Linked DNA regions of Homo sapiens: region 1 is linked to region 2. Evidence: promoter capture Hi-C in human tissues and cell types (Jung and others, 2019). All regions are on one chromosome and are shown on one strand. The core of a region is centred on a gene start or on the middle of the fragment in contact, and the rest is flanking DNA. Distances in the headings are between cores, read along the strand shown.

Region 1 (2,900 bases), core at 22-2,521, 43 kb after region 2:
GGGAACTTTCTCTGAACCTCTATACCAGGTTAGTTTTCACTCCTACACCAGCCCTCCTTTATAATTGTAATTGACTAAGTATGCATTTATTTGATGTTTGTGCCTCTGGTCTTCCCTTCATAGGATCTATACCTAAGTCTGTTTTTCCCACAAATACAAGCAGTGCCTAGCGTATCAGATACTTAACAGTTAAGGAAATGCCCCCTTTTTCCTAAATTCCATTAGATTCTACTGGGAAATGAGTTTGAATCTATAAAATTAGACCAAGAGACCCGGAGTCATAAATACCAGGGTGAAGATATAGGAATATCTTTATTCCATAAGCAATGAAGAATGACCCATGGCAATAAAAATATGGAGTTTTGTGCATATTAATCAGATAGTGTCAGAAGACTAGATCAGGGCAAGGAAAGGCTGGAGAAAGAAAAAGAATTACACAGTTATTGAAATTATAATATAAAAAGTAGTGGGTACTCTAATGTAATTGGAGAAACAAAAATGGAGAAGAATGAGTAAGTCTTAAAGATACTGGGAAGAGGAAGTAGTAGAATATGGTAGAGACTGGATTTGGGGGACAAAGGAATGGTTTGAAATAAAAACACTCTTCTGGCTTTTGATTTGGGAGTCTGAGAAAACAGAATAGTGACAATAATGACTTCTTTCATGTAACTTATCTTTCAATTCTTGTACCAAACCTGAGAGATTAATTACTGTGATTTCCATTTCCAGATGAGAAAAATCAAAACTCTTAGAGAAGCAAGTAGAGCCTAATGATCAAACCCCTGGGCCTTTGATCAGGGTACTCAATTCAAATCTCAGCTTCACCTTTGTGTCATTGGGAAGTTAATTCTTCTGTGCCTCAGTTGGGGATAATCAAAGAACCTACTTCATAGCATTGTTGGGGAGTAAAATAAGAATAAAACTAATAAGATAGCATGTAATAAGATAATTTGTGGTATCACACAAAAGGATGCCTGCAGTCTATAGATGCATATAGTAAGGGCTCAATAAAAGATTACTATGAGTAGGTAACTTGCCCAAGATTAAACAGCTGGTAAACGGCAGAGCTTCCTACTTGAACCCAGGTCTTCTGGTGTATTTGTTATACATATTGTTATGCACGTCCGTGTGAAGAGACCACCAAACATGCTTTGTGTGAGCAATAAAGCTTTTAATCACCTGGGTGCAGGCAGACTGAGTCTGAAAAAGGAGTCAGCAAAGGAAGATAGGGGTGGGGCAGTTTTATAGGATTTGGGTAGGTAGTGGAAAATTACAGTCAAAGGGGGTTGTTCTTTTGCAGGCAGGGGTGTGGTCACAAGGTGCTCAGTGGGACAGCTTTTGAGCTAGGAGAAGAAATTTCACAAGGTAATGTCATCAGTTAAGGCAGGAACCGGTCATTTTCACTTCTTTTGTGGTTCTTCAGTTGCCTCAGGCCATCTGGATGTATATGTGCAGGCTTGGGCTCAGAGGCCTGACATTCCTGTCTTCTTATATTAATAGGAAAAACAAAACAAAATAGAGGTGAAGTGTTGGGATGGCAAAAATTTTTGGGGGTGGTATGGAGAGATAATGCGTGATGTCTCTCAGGGCTGCTTCGAGCAGGATTAGGGGAGGTGTGGGAACCTAGAATGGGAGAGATTAAACTGAAGAAAGATTTTGGGGTAAGAGGTGATATTGTGGGTTTGTTAGAAGGAGCATTTGTCGTATAGAATGATTGATGTGGCCTGGATGCGGTTCTGTATGAATTGGGAAACTAAATGGAAGACACAAGGTCCGAATAAGAGAAGGAGAAAAACAGGTTTTAAAGGACTAAGAATTGGGAGGACCCAGGACATCCAATTAGAGAGTGCCCAAGGGGGTTTGGTGTAATTACTTGCTTGGTTGGTGAGTTTTTGGGCTCTATCTTTGAGTTTTTTTATGTTGTTATATACTAGGCCAGATTGATTTAGGTAAAAACAACACTCTTCATTTAAAAATGTAGAGTCTTCCTTTTTCAGCAATGAGTAAGTCAAGGCCTATTCCTGTCGTCTTGTATTCATAATAAACAAAACAAAACAAAACAAAATAGTAGTGAAGTGTTGCTGTCATGAGGGGGACAGGGCACTGTTCGGTCCTATTTGCAAATTGATTTTTGGGGATAAGGAAAACTAGCATACATGTGCCTGTCCCATTGATAGGTAGACACATGTAGGTGGAGAAGCCACAGAGGAAGAAGAGAACTATGTAAGGCAAAACTGGAACTGTAAAGTGAAAAGATGAGAGGGAGCACCAAAAGAGATGATGTCTTGCACTCAGACTCTTAGGGATTTAGCGAGGGCAGCAGCTGTTAGAGGTTGTAATGGGGATTGATGGGGCAACTGGGTAGAGGGGGCGGTTCGATTTTTATGGTGTATTAGAAAGCACATAGTGTCTATGAGTAACCTTTCACTGCTATTCATGGGGCTGAGTATAAGCAAGCAAGAGGAGGGGCTAGGAGGAGAGTCTGAAGAACAAGGGGAAGGTAGCTAAGGATGGAGTGAAATGCAGGGCAAACGTCTTAAAGGAAATGAGAGGTTCTAAGAGGCAGGCTAGTGGCTTGTGACCTACATAGAAGAGGTTGTGAAACGACGATAGAATGGAATGAGCCTGTGAGGCTGGAAGGAGGTATTTTCCTTAGTCTAAGAACCATTTGCCTTGAGTGGGAAGGGATTGATAGGTGGACAACTTCAGTGGGAGAGCAAGTAGGAGTGACTGATGAGAAGCAGAAAAACTGGCCATGAGGGACAGAAGTTGGAACGCTAGCTGCTTCTTTAGCTACCTTATCAGCATAAGCATTGCCCTGAGCAATGGGGTCTGAGGCCCTTTGATGGCCTTTGCAGTGAAGTACTCCATCTTCCTTTGGAAGTAAAGTGGCCTTGAGA
Region 2 (2,917 bases), core at 404-2,903:
ACTCTTTGTGAACTCATTTTGGCCATAATTTTTCATGCGTGTACTTACAAAAAAATCTCTACAAGTGATTTATAGACCTGCCTAGAGAAACAGGGAAAATCCCTGATGTTCATTTGTTTCTCAGCTCTTCCTGTGAAGTGTAATACATGGGACTGGAGAAAACATAGCACAGAGATTAACAGTACAGAAACGAGGTTCGAGTTCCTTCTCTGCTGTTCCCACTGTCCTCACTGCTAACTAGGTGAAATCCAGCAAGTTATGGCACTTCTAAATATCACTTTCTTTCACTGAAAATGGGAATAATGACAGTTTCTATATAATAGGACTCCTAGGATGATTCAATAAGTCCTTAGCAAACATTGCTACCCAATTAATAGAATTAATTGACTACTTACTATGAGGCAGGACCTGTGCTAGATTCCTTTTTTTGGAGGGGGGATGGAATCTCACTCTTTTGCCCAGGCTGGAGTGCAGTGGCGCCATCTCAGCTCACTGCAACCTCTGCCTCCCGGTTTCAAGCGATTCTCCCTCCTCAGCCTCCCAAATAGCTGGGATTACAGGTGCCCACCACCATGCCTGGCTAATTTTTGTGTTTTTAGTAGAGACGGGGTTTCACCATGTTTGCGAGGCTGGTCTTGAACTCCTGACCTCAAGTGATCAGCCCGTCTCGGCCTCCCAAATTGCTGGGATTACAGGCATGAGCCACCGCACCTGGCGAAGGGAGAACTCTTAATGCTTTAACGGATTTTGCAAGTAAAGTCTGGATTAGTCAGGGTAGGTGTGAGGATCAAAGGGGAGCTTCACCCTACTAGCCTTGGCTCCAGTAGTTTATTCAATTACATTCAGCAGCAAGTATTGAACACTAATGATATGTAAAGTACTGTGATATAAAATAGTCCATGTCCTCAAATAATTTATAATCTTGTAGGAAAAATAAGACATACACAAATAAAAATAATGCAAAAACTTTAAGTTCCTTGAGAGAGGGCAACAAAGAATGATTCAAAGGCAAGAGAATCTATCCTATGGGATATATCCAAAAAGGCTTCATTGAAGATGTCAACTTGGGGATAACTTTGAAAGGCAGGATCTTAGAGAGGGAGGAATGTATCATGGAAAGAGGAAATAGAAATGTCTTGGATCAGCCTGTGTCCCCTTTCACTATAAGAGCCTGAAACAATGTGGCTTGTCTGTAATAGACACGTGAATCTCCACTCACGAATTGAGGGACTCCAGTTTGTAATTTATGTCCCCTACAGCCTACCTTTCCTTTTCTGCCCTGTGCTTAACCTAGTACATTGTGATGAAAGGTGGGACCTGGCCAACATAGTTTCTTCCCCCAAAATCGAAACATTCAACTTTAGGTTAAAGGTGGACACTTTCCCTAGTATATCTAATGATGGGCTGAGGCTCAGAGCTTTGCAGCTAAGCTCTGGCCTTATTGACTTAAATCATTTTAATGACACTTTAATATTAAAGAGTCACTGGGCCCAGTGTCTGTGAAATGCTCTCTGTGCCCTGCCTCTGCTAGAGCAGACACTGTGTGCAGGAAAGAAGACAAGAGAATGTAGGACAAGTCCTACTGGCCTTGCAAAGGTCCCACCCCCTAGTCCCTGTGACGCATCCAGTGCAGGTGACATGTTCTCTAAGGTGTGGATAGGCAATTAATTTCATGGAGAGTAGGAGGTGTGGGTTCAGCTGCTGCTTTTTTTTTTTTTTCAGTGAGGCATTATCTGAATGATGCTCATTCTCTCTTGAGTCTGGACTTCGTGCAACAAGCAGCAACTGGATATTATTTTAAAATAAGCATAAGCCACCCAAAGATACTGATCTGGGTCCTTCTTTTGGAAGAAGAGTTGATTGAGAAGTGCCTCTTGGTTAAGGATTAACCACAGGGAAAAATCCAGCAGAAACAGAAGAACTGTGGGTTTCTTACCCCAGCCCTCAAGGAAGCTATGCCGTGAAAGGGGTACTGATACACTGACATACAGCAAGTTGGACGGGGCATCAGTTCTTCATTTGTGGAGTGGAGAAAAGAAGAGGAAATCTCTCATTTGGGGCATTTGAAGGATGGCTTCCCTGTTTCATCAGCTTCAGATCCTGGTCTGGAAAAATTGGCTAGGTGTAAAAAGGCAGCCGGTGAGTTAAAAAAAAGTGTGGGAGTATGGGTCATGGGGCAATACGCCAGGTAATCCTAAAATGTGATCTTAATGAGAAGTGAAAACAGAAGAGTTTAAAGGCATTTTCCAAAGCAGGAAGTAAGATATTTAGAATTCATCCCCCTATCTGTCTTATAGCTAATGGAGCGAGTCTTAACATGCCCCCAAAAGCAGCCTTTTCATTTCAGTAAATTAAAGAGTAAACCAGGACATGCCCTGGGCAAAAAAAAAAGAACATGACTCATTACTGGCTGAACTGGAACGTTGAATTCTGGTTTCAAGCCAAAAGGCTTTCAGAATTTTTCTTAATGTAGTTAAAAATGGGATAGAGGAAAGAAAAGTATTATTTGAAATGTACAATAAATGGGAAGAAATATACTGGAAAACTGAAAGCCATAGAAAGTTTGGTTGAAAGGTAAAATACAGAACAGAAATAGTTTGAAGGCTATTAGTATAGAAAAGCTACTGAGAAATTTTAGTATCTAAAAATCATTTACTGGGAATACCAAACAAGAGTATGTATATGTGCTATGTTTTAAGAATATTATTGAATCACTTAGCTTTACTACTACAATCTATCTTCTCTTGCTCATTGCAACGTCTTTTTTGTACTCTTACATTAATGTTTGCGTTCTAATTACAAAGTTAGCTATTAGATCCTCATCAGATGGCTCCCAGGATGATTGAGAAAGGAATTGGTTTCTGGGAGTTGTTATATATTCAGAAGAATGTTTGAAAATCGGGGAAATCCAAAAAGG

Evidence for each region. Contacts are between HindIII fragments. The study calls those that stand out against the background at their distance.
Region 1: a fragment that was not itself captured here is called in contact with the fragment with the promoter of ABCA12 in region 2 in 1 of the 25 tissues and cell types used here (spleen).

Annotation. Positions count from the first base shown.
Region 1 is chr2:215,094,244-215,097,143 of GRCh38, reverse strand. All of the region lies in intron 2 of ABCA12 (ATP binding cassette subfamily A member 12), which reads left to right. Among named protein-coding and RNA genes, the nearest start is that of ABCA12, 43 kb to the left of the region's middle. The HindIII fragment of the contact is 3,163 bases long and covers 1-2,852 here.
Region 2 is chr2:215,137,362-215,140,278 of GRCh38, reverse strand. ABCA12 (ATP binding cassette subfamily A member 12) reads left to right here and starts at 1,653. Exons shown (of 53, transcript NM_173076.3): 1 at 1,653-2,139. The coding sequence starts at 2,071. The HindIII fragment of the contact is 12,690 bases long and covers 1-2,917 here.